2 separate regions of the Homo sapiens genome follow, and region 1 is linked to region 2. Evidence: promoter capture Hi-C in human tissues and cell types (Jung and others, 2019). All regions are on one chromosome and are shown on one strand. Each heading gives the region's core, a stretch centred on a gene start or on the middle of the fragment in contact. The rest is flanking DNA. Distances are from core to core; before and after follow the strand shown. Region 1 overlaps SMC1B (structural maintenance of chromosomes 1B). Region 2 holds the start of PHF21B (PHD finger protein 21B).

Region 1 (5,333 bases), core at 348-2,847, 390 kb after region 2:
AAAAACAAACAAAAAAAAATCCTGCATCATGATTATGCCACTGCACTCCAGCCTGAGTGACAGAGCGAGACCCTCTCTCTACAAAATTAAAATTAAAAATAAATAAATCTAGTTCTGTATACAGGCTGAAAAATTTAAATCCCCACAATTTACATTGAGGATAATCTCTTAAAATATCAGAGAGGTCATCTTTTAAATTTTTTTCTAATTCAAAGCAGCTGAAATAATAGAAACACAAGATTTCCCCTAAGTTGTCCTTTTTTACCTGACTGGCTTCCAGTTCAATGTCTCGCTTTTTATGTAAAATTTCTTCCTCAATCTGCTTTTCAAAACTTCTCCATGCAGCATCTAAATCAGCCAGCTCTGTCTCCAGGGCTTTTATATCATCTTCCTGTTTAGAACATTGTTTTTCGCTGTCCTTTATTGATTTCTTAGCCACATCTAATTTCTTAAGGTGGTGAGAAGTGTTTTCTTTGGCTTTAATGTACTGAGGCCTCTTCTGATTTAAAAGGGTTTCAACCGATCTGAAAAGGGAAAAATGTTTGCTTTAAAGAAAATTTCATTTCTTTAATATATAAAGGGAAGAAGTTGTTTTGATCAAACCACTTTAAAAAAGAAATCCTAAAAATCAACTTTCAGAGACTGTAAGCAGATCAATGGTTGCCAAAGGTTGAGCAAGGTCAGGGGGAGGGATGAATAAAGCACACGGTCACTTTTGAGAGTGGTACTGTAGTGGTAGACACTTGACACTATGAATTTGCCAAAACCTGTATTACTTTACAGCACCAAGGATGAACCTTAATGTAAGCAAATTAAAAAAGAATCACTCAGGAGGCTAAGGGATCCTATATGGAATGTAGAATGCAATAAAAAATCTAACTTTATTATAAATGTAGAAACAGCCTTACTGAAGGGGTGGAAGGAAAACATGCTGACCTAATTCTAGAAATGAGTGGAGTCTGTAAGACTAAAAGCAAAAGAATTGTATATAAGTACTATACTGTAGTTACAAAGATGCTTTCCATGGGGGTACGGGTTAACAATTCTGACGCTATTACACGTGATTACTGGAAATGCACAATTAAGCAAATGGATGGCAGATGGTAGAAGCCAGATTTCCCATTGTTGAAGTGGGAGGTTACAGATAAGCAAGAGAAGGCTAGAATGATTAATGTGGTAATGGCTTAGAATTGGGAGACATCAATATGAACTCATGTTTAGCTTAATATAGATGGTCACATATGAAAATATTTATAGCTATGTGTATAAATAGTATACACAGGTATTTCCTAGTTCCAACAGCTGAGAAAGCCTAGAAGCAAGGACACTCCAGTAGCAACGAACACACCTACCACCTAGATGTTGGTTCCTAATACTGTTCTCCGATAAAAGGAACCAGGGTTCCTTGGAGAGCCTGGGGCAGGCTCATACAAGCTGGGGCAAGCTGATGCTTGGACTGGCTTATACAAGATGACAGTAGAAGATACTTATCTTCTAGAAAGTAAGGAAGAGCTCCAAAAAAAAATCACAGTAATGAGAATATTTCAAAGGGACACAGGAGCCAACTCAAAGAGTTCTCAGTGGCCACAGCAGGAACAATCTAAGCAACAAAATCAACAATGTAATACTGGATTATAACTCTAAATGTAAAATATCCATAAATCTATACTGATGTAAACAAATAACAATTAATTTAATTTTAAAATAATTAAGTAGAGACAAATCTGTGCAGAATTCCAAAAAAATCATGTAGATACTTTGCCCTCAAGGTAAAACATAACTCTCCTTACTCCTTAAGTGTGGGCTAAGCATAGTGACTTCCTCTCAAAGATTATAGTATGAAAAGGGAGAAAAAATAACCTCACAGAGGAGAAACATGACAAAAACTACTTCAGTCAGGTGATCAAGGTCAACATCAACAGTGATACCATGTTGATATGACACATGATATAGTACATGATAAATGTCATGTAACATATATAATACACTGACACTCTGATAGAATATAATGAGAAGGACATTTTACTTCTGTGGGCTTCCTCCCCACAGTCTGTATCTTCAGTCTAATTATGTGAAAACCATCAGACAAATCCGGATTGAAAGATGTTCTATAAAAAAACTGACCAATATTCCTCAAAATTGTCAAGTTCATCAAAAACAAGAACTGTCACAGCTAAAAGGTGCCTAAGGAGACATATAACTAAATGTAATATGGTATTCTGGATCATAAAAAGGACATTAGGCAAAAGCTGAGAAAATATGTATAAAGTATGGACTTTAGTTAATGTATCAATATTAGTTTATTAATTCTGACAATGTATCATAATAATGTAAGATATTAATAATAGGAGAAACTGAGTGTTGGGAATATGGGACTGATACAGGGGCTAAAAATAAATTATTTAGGCAGATAGTGAAGGTTAAGAGAGTCCTCAGCAGAGCTTCCCTTTTAACGAAAAGCAGCCCCAAAATCATTTCTTTTCTAACAAAGAGGAGCCTGAAAAATTAGGCTACAAATGGGGTACATAAGCAAGCTGGAAGCTTACACGAGTGAATGCCGGCAGCTGAGCCAATAGAAAAGGGGTACTCAGAAGCCAGCTATGTTCAACATGAAGGCTCCATCTTCCCTTTTCTTTGTCACCACGTGTACAGTAGAAAAGCTGGCAAACATGGCGCCAGCCAGGTACAGAATCTGCATAATAAAAAATTAGGGTGGGATGGCCAGCTTCTTTGTGCACTATGCAAATGGCACATCTAGTCCTAAGCGGTTCTTCACGTGCTATGCAAATGGAATACCTGATCTGAACAACCCTTCATGCCCTAAATCAGACACCGCCTCCTCAAGCTCATCTATAAAACCGCCTGTACTTCACTGTGGACCAGAAGACCCAATTGGGAGCCCCTCTCTCTGCATGAGAAAGCTTTTCTCTTTCTTTCACCTATTAAACCCACTCTTAACCTCACTCCTTGTGTGTCTGCATCCTTGATTTCCTTGCTGTGAGGCAATGAACCTCGGGTATTACCCCAAACACCACCACTTCAGGACCATTCTACACCACCTTTTTTTTTTTTGAGATGGAGTCTCACGCTGTTGCCCAGGCTGGAGTGTAGTGGCGTGATCTCGGCTCACTGCAAGCTCCACCTCCCAGGTTCATGCCATTCTCCTGCCTCAGCCTCCCGAGTAGGTGGGACTACAGGTGCCTGCCACCATGCCCAGCTAATTTTTTGTATTTTTAGTAGAGACGGGGTTTCACCGTGTTAGCCAGGATGGTCTCGATCTCCTTACCTCGTGATCCACCTGCCTCAGCCTCCCAAAGTGCTGGGATTACAGGCATGAGCCACCACACCTGGCCTATACTATCTTTATAATTTTTCTGTATATCTAAAAGTATTCCAAAGTAAAAAGCTTATTTTTAAAATCAATTTTCAAAGTGTCACTTATATTATTCCCTCTATCAAGCTACATATAACCCAACTGTTAATATCTACTTTTAAAAACTCACTTTAATTCTTTTTCTGTTTGTTGTAGTTGTCTAGTTAGCATTCCATGTTCCTTTTTCCTGGCTTTAACTATGTTTTCATGATGAGACAAAGACTCTCTTTTGACACTCAAATCCCTATTCACATGCTCTAACTTGGTGTTCAGGAGATGAATCTTTTTCTCATTATGGTATAGTTGAAAAAGCTGCAGTTGTATCTTGTTCATTTTCAGTTCTTCAAGGAGACTCTGGTAACGTTCTGCCTATAAAAGAGTATAATTCAACAGCAGTTAAAAGGGAGTGTATTTAAGTTGGCCTTTCATAAACTCAACTACTATACCAACAAATTAACTAATGAATGTTTATTTATTAGGACATAATGTTCTTGCCAAAAGTAGCATAATTTGGCGAGGGTTTCTGAATATACTTTTTAAATAACCCAATACACCAGCAAATGATTTTGTGTTCTTGCGCTCAGTGGTATGATGATGAGAACAAAGAAGTGGCATGCATTAGCCTGGGTCCCTTTTGTCTGGACCTGTGAGTTTCACAACTCAATCAGTATTTCTGGCATCAGCTTCCTCCTTTGTAAACTGAAAGAAGAGTGTGATATGACTTATAAGGTGCTAGTAACTTTAAATTCAATGACTCCAGGAAAAATTCCTACTACAGGAAGTAGTTTTTCTACCGATAAAACAGGACTCTTACAGTGCTAAATTATATGTGAAAAATAATAATTTCCTTAACATTTGTGCTATTAAAGAAATAAAGGAACAGGCTACCTCAAGAGGAGCTCCTAATCAATATTGGAAGTATTCAAAGTAACAGGCTATCCACTAGGATGTTGTAAAAAACAATTAGGAAGTTGTTTCGTTCTAACTGTCCTTAAAATGTTTAAATTTTGCAGTTCAGTATATTGTGATTATTATAGTCTGACTTCCACTGCTGCCACTCCTTTCCACTAACAAAACCAAGGACATGTATACATATTAGAAAACATGAAGACACAGAGAAACATCACTAATAAGAAACATCCACTTTCCATTTACTTCTTCAAATATGTATTGAGTATCTACTATGAGCCAGGTGCTGGTCTATGCATTGAGAATATAGCAGAAAATAAGACAGACTATCCCTGATCCTGTTTGTTTGTTTGTTTGTTTGAAACAGAGTTTTGCTCTCTCACCCAGGCTGGAATGCAATGGCACGATCACAGCTCACTGTAGCCTCGACCTCCTGGGCCCAAGAGATCCTTCTGTGTCAGCCTCCTGAGTGGCTGGAAAGACAGGCGTGTGCCACCACACCAGGCAAAGTTTTTTATTTTTATTTTTGTAGAGATGAGGTCTCACTATGTTGCCCAGGCTAGTCTCGAACTCCTGGGCTCAAGGGATGCTCCCACCTTGGCCTCCCAAAGTACTGGGATTAAAGATGTGAGCCACCATACCCAGCCCAACCCTGCTCTTGTGCAATTTATATTACAGTTATTCTAATGGGGAGAAGAGAGGAAGAAAAGTCAGAGAATAAACACAAGGACTAAACTCTGATCTTTTTTCTTCTCTTGCCCAAATTTCTATCTAAGGAGCCTGGGGAGTCTGCTCTACAAAGTTTCATCAGAGGGTGTTTTTTGTTTGTTTGTTTGTTTGTTTGTTTTGAGACAGAGTCTCACTCTGTCGCCCAGGCTAAAGTGCAGTGGTGCAATCTCGGCTCACTGCAACCTCTGCCTCTTAGCTTCAAGTGATTCTCCTGCCTCAGCCTCCTGAGTAGCTGGGATTACAGGCATGTGCCACCACGCCCAGCTAATTTTTGTATTTTTAGTAAAGACAGGGTTTCTCCATGTTGGCCAGGCTGGTCTCA
Region 2 (5,205 bases), core at 352-2,851:
TGGGGAACTTTGAGAACTGGAGACAGACCCCTCTGGGAGTCTGAGCGTGCGTCGCCCAGGCTGGCACTTTTTAGGGCGCCGCCAAAGTGCCCAGCCACCCTCCCGCCCCATCCCAGGGGGGGCCGCGATCCCATCGCTTACTTGTTTGTCGCTGAGCGCGGCGATCCGCGGCTGCCTTTCGTGGAGCTGCTTCTTGAGGTCGCCGTTCTGCGGAAACACGGAGGAGCGGGCTCAGGCAGGCCACCCGGGGTCAGGTGCACCCCAGCACCGCGGGCCGCGGCACCCCCCGCCCGGAGCCCCACGGGCGGGGCCGGCCGCAGCGCACCCCAAGTTTCCCGGGCCGCGTCCTGCACGCGCGGCGGCCGGGCAGTGCCGCGCGGGGCCGCTTACCTGTGGCTGCCGCCTCATCGGGGCAGCTCGCGGGGCGGGGCGGGGGCCGAGGCCACCCGGCGGCGCGCCCCGAGCCGTGCAAGTTTGCAGGCCGGGGTGCGTGTGCGAGTGAGTGTGAGTGTGAGTGTGTGCCGGGGGAGGGGGGAGGAACAAAGAGCCAAGTAAACACGGCGAGTCCGTGTCGAGCAAAGCTCATAAATATTCAAGTCGCGTCCTAATCTCCCCAACACACACACGCGCACGCCGAGCCCCGCTCAGGCTCCGGCCGCCACGCCGCCGCTCGCCAGCAGCGATCGCCAAAACTACTTCTGCACACCGGGCAGGTTCGCCCGGGGCGCGGGGGCCCGAGGGGAGGCCGGAAGGGGGCCTATTCGCACTCCCCTCCCCGGGACCGGCTCACGAAGGGGCCCCCTCCAGGCACCCTCCCAGTCATGCAGACCCTACATCGCTTAAGAGAAGACTCCAGGCTCGGGTCCCACGCGTCCTCGATCCCGCAAACTGTGCAGGACAGCGCCAGGGGCAGGCGGAGGGGAGCCCAGAAGGGGGTCCGCGCGTGTGCTCACTCCCTCGCCCCCCGCCCCCGGGCAGGCTCCAGCCTGGAAGACCCAGAGACCCGGAAGAGAGGATGCTGGGCTCGGGTCCCCCGACCCCCTCACCCCGCAACACACTCCCCGGCCCCGGGCCCGGCCCCCGGCCACCTACCTGGTGGCGCGCGAGTTCCACGGCGAGCGCCTCGGGCCGGCTCTGCAGCTCCATCCCGGCAACTTGGGCAGCACTTTGCGCTCACTTTGGCCCGGGCTCCCGGGAAGTTGCGCGGCTCCGCGGGGGCCAGAGCGGGCGCGGGCGGACGCGGCCTCCGGGCTGGGTTGGGGGGGACACGAGCCCCCTCCCCCACGGCCGAAAGGGAAGGGGGCTGGCGAAGGGGAAGACAGGCTTCCGGGCGCCGCGGCGCCGAGCCCTCGGCTGCCCCAACTCCTCAGGCTGCCCGGCAAGTTGCGCCGGGTCCCCGGGCTGCCGGCGCGGCCCGGAGCATGGCCCCCCCGGCGCCGGGAGCCCCGCGCAGCCCCGCGCGCGCCCGCCCAGCCGCCGCCGCCGCCGCCTCCTCCCGCGCGAGCCTCCCGCGGGCAGGGACTATATTTCCTCCGGCGCGCGCGCCTGGATCTCGTTGGGCCTCGGCAAAGTTGTGCCTCGGCACGATGCTAATTCGGCAGTGCCCGGATGGAGCGGGCCGGGGCGGCGGGGGGCGGTGCCGGGACCCTCAGCCCGCCGCGCCCCGCCCCCGCCCCGCCCGCGCCTGCGCACTGCCGCCCCGCCGCGGCCCGGCACCCCGAGCGGAGAACAAAAGTGGCGGTGGACGGGGACGCACGGTCGCCGGCTCCGGGGACTGCTCGGGCCGGGCGCTCGGAGAGGACGACTGCGGAGTCATCCTCTCCGTCCCCGGGCCAACCCGGGGAACGCGGCGCCCCCACCCCCTGCGCCGTGTAACGCCGGGATCAGGACACTTTCCGCTGGGAGGCTGCGAGTCCGTGTTTCCATTTCTCCTCACCCTGGTCCTCGGCTCCCTCCTTTCCCCCCTCCTCCGCCTCCCTCTGATATTTTATTTAAATTCTTCCGTCCCCTCCTGTCCATACCAGCGCCGCGACTTGGGGGATTAAATTAGTCGCGTCGCCACATTCCCCCGCCGCCTGATGGCCTCCGTGTTGTTTAAACAGCAAGAAAATTGATCTCTTGGCTCTTCCTTTAATGATTTTTTTTTACACGATTAAACTCTCAACAGATGTCACTGGACATTTTAAGACTCTTGTTAAGAGTCGTAAACAGGCCCGGTCAATGCGACCTAAAACAATTATAATTACAGCTGCGGAGGTCGCGTTTCAGAACCCCCAGCCGCGCAGCCAGGAGGTTAATGTCCCAGAGTCACTGTCACCACCTCGGGGCTGCCATCTTCATTCAGGTCGGAGTGCCGGGTGCCCTGTTGGCAGCAAACTGGCACGTTTGAAACACGCTGGGGAGAAAGGGTGCAATCATATGTCAAAGTAAACGTTTAAGCTGTTAAGTCGTTTTAACTTCAGATTCCTCTCCGGCAGCACAAAAAATACCCAAGCAAGCACCATCAGCAAATGTCCCTTTCAACATATGCCAACAGGTCACACATTGCTTTTGTTGGCAGAAGTTATTGGAATTCCCCCTTTTCTTTCTTTTCTTTTTTTTTTTTTTTTCAAGTGAGGACCCCAGTGTTGTTCTGCTCTCTGTTAGGGAATTTGTAATAAATTACGTGTTTGGGACCCCCAAACACAGATGGCCCCTCATCCCACAACCCAGCACCTCGCCTTCAGAGCACGACAGAGTGAGACTTAGGATATGAGTAACTATGCAAAAAGCAGAGGGGCATGTAGATGACCCTTACTTTAACCCAAATTAGTTAACAGAAACTTGCAAACAGCGCTTTAAGACTCCATAGGAGGCCGGCCGGGGGCGGTGGCTCACACCTGTAATCCCAGTACTTTGGGAGGCCGAAGTGGGCAGATCACGAGGTCAGGAGTTCGAGACCAGCCTGCCCAACATGGTCTCGACTAAAAATACAAAAAATTAGGCATGGTGGCGCAAGCCTGTAATCCCAGCTACTCGGGAGGCTGAGGCAGGAGAGTTGCTTCAACCCAGGAGGCAGAGGTTGCAGTGAGCCGAGATTGCACCACAGCACTCCAGTCTGGGCAACAGAGCAAGACTCTGTCTCAGAAAAAACAAACAAACAAACAGAAAAGACTCAACAGGAGGAGCCACTACCCTCCGGCCAGCATCTGCCTGAATCTGTGTGGGCCGAAGATGACCTGAATAACCTCTGTTGATTTAATTACGTAGGTTAAATATGTGGGTTACGGTAAGGATCATATACATGCCCCTCTGTTTTTTGCATAGTTACTTACTGTGTGAGTCTCATTCTGTCGTGCAGGCTAATGTGCAGTGGTGAAATCATAGCTCACCACTGCCTCCACCTCACCTGCTCAAGCAATCCTCCCACCTCAGCCTCCCAAGTAGCTGGGACCACAGTCACACCATAAGCCAACACTGGTTAATGTGGATGCAAAACTAGCCCGTGTTTGAAGTGGTCGTGATTCCTTTGGTTTTGCCCCAAGCAGGGAGAAGCAAGGTTCCTCAAATGCAAAACAAAGAGGCTGACTCAGGGTGCCCCAATAGGTACCCACTCCTCCCACTTCTGGGTTTAGCCCGGGTCAGGGTGGTGGCCTCCCTCCTTAGTGCTTTTGCTGGGCTGAACACCAGCCCAGGAAAGTGGACTGCCCTGGAGACCCATGCTTGGAGAGCCAGAGAGAAAGTGTGCAGAAAGAGGATTCCTACTGTAATCTCTGTAAATGCCACTGGCTTCTTGGTAAAAATTCAGAGTAATTTTATCAGCCACGTAGGGTAATTAAATCAACAGAGGATATTCAGGTCATCTTCAGTCCACACAGTCTCAGGCTGATGCTGGCCAGAGGATAGTGGCTCCGACTGTGGAATCTTAAAGCACTGTTTAAGTGCATGGTGTAGCAAAAGATCCGACAGAGACAGCAGAGACACAGGGCCCCTGTGTTAAACACAGAGCGAGAAAAATGACTGACAGGCAAAGGAAGGGTTAATTCTGAGAGGGGTGGTCTGAGAGGGGCTTGTCAAGAAGTAACTTGAGCAGAGCCTTGAGAATGTAGTAATACTGTTTGTTCTGAGTTTTACCATCCACATGGCACTCTTCATACCTGTTGTCTCCTGCCCTCGTTGAGTTCCGGGGGTAGGTCTGGTATCCCTATTTTACAGGTTAGAGGACTGAGGCTCAGGGCATTAGGTTACTTACAAGCCCTGTTGCCTGGAATTGGACCCACAGACTCAGGCAGCAGAGACCTGGATAGATGTGTAGCCTCTTCCCCGTCAGGGCTGGGAGATCTGGGCCAGTGGCTGAGGATGGATTTGCTTCCAGAGAAGAGCAGGCATAAGCCATGGGCCTGGGGTAGGCTGCAGGAGGGATCTCAGGGGGCCTGCAGTGCTCACTGGAGGAGAAAAACAGGACAGAAAAGATGGCAGGACCAGACCCCAAGGTCCTACAACACCATGCTGGGGTTTTAAATGTGTTATGTGGACAAGGGGACCTGCCCAAGGTTTCCGCACAGGGGTATGAGACATGACCAGGCCTCTGCTCAGAGATGACCTGGTGGTAATGTGAAGGATATGGTGGAAACTGGATGTGGGGGCCAGTCAGGAGATGGGGGCCATGGTTAGTGAGAGAGGCACCTCTCTTGAGATTGGGGAGGGGGAGAAAAGGAGGAGGCCAGTGCAGATTTCTGGAGCCACCAAGGCCCCAGTACAGAGGAAGTGGGAGGGGGTTTGAACCTGTGGCGTGCGGTTCACCCACATGAGCGATTTCTCTGTTGGGGACACAAGTTTTCCTTTAGTGTTACTGCTGCAGGGACCACTTACCGAGAGCCTTCCCTTTCCCCTCTGTAGTAGGCATTCTTCATGCCTTTTGATCCTATGGAGGTGGGTATATTTATCCCCACTTTACAGATGAGAAAACTGAGGCTCAAAGTGGTTCAGTAACTTTCCCAAGCTGCACAGCTATAAATGGGGTACACACCCATATCAGGGTCATAGGACAGCCCTGTCTATGCCTCTTGTCTGAGTAATATTGAATAGCGCCCCTTTCACTTTTTTTTTTTTGAGATAGAGTTTCATTCTTGTTGCCCAGGCTGGAGTGCCATGGCACAGTCTCAGCTCACTGCAACCTCCGCTTCCCAGGTTCAAGCGATTCTCCTGCCTCAGCCTCCCAAGTAG

The links. The method cuts DNA at HindIII sites, captures the fragments that hold promoters and counts their contacts. A contact is called where the count stands out against the background at its distance.
Region 1: a contact is called between a fragment that was not itself captured here and the fragment with the promoter of PHF21B in region 2, in 2 of the 25 tissues and cell types used here (H1 embryonic stem cells and spleen).

Annotation. Positions count from the first base shown.
Region 1 is chr22:45,398,830-45,404,162 of GRCh38, forward strand. It overlaps SMC1B (structural maintenance of chromosomes 1B), which reads right to left. Exons shown (of 25, transcript NM_148674.5): 5 at 3,504-3,742; 6 at 266-524. Among named protein-coding and RNA genes, the nearest start is that of SMC1B, 12 kb to the right of the region's middle. The HindIII fragment of the contact is 7,606 bases long and covers 1-5,333 here.
Region 2 is chr22:45,008,404-45,013,608 of GRCh38, forward strand. It overlaps PHF21B (PHD finger protein 21B), which reads right to left and starts at 1,602. Exons shown (of 13, transcript NM_138415.5): 1 at 1,093-1,602; 2 at 142-207. The coding sequence starts at 1,146. RefSeq lists an enhancer at 1-582. The HindIII fragment of the contact is 18,572 bases long and covers 1-5,205 here.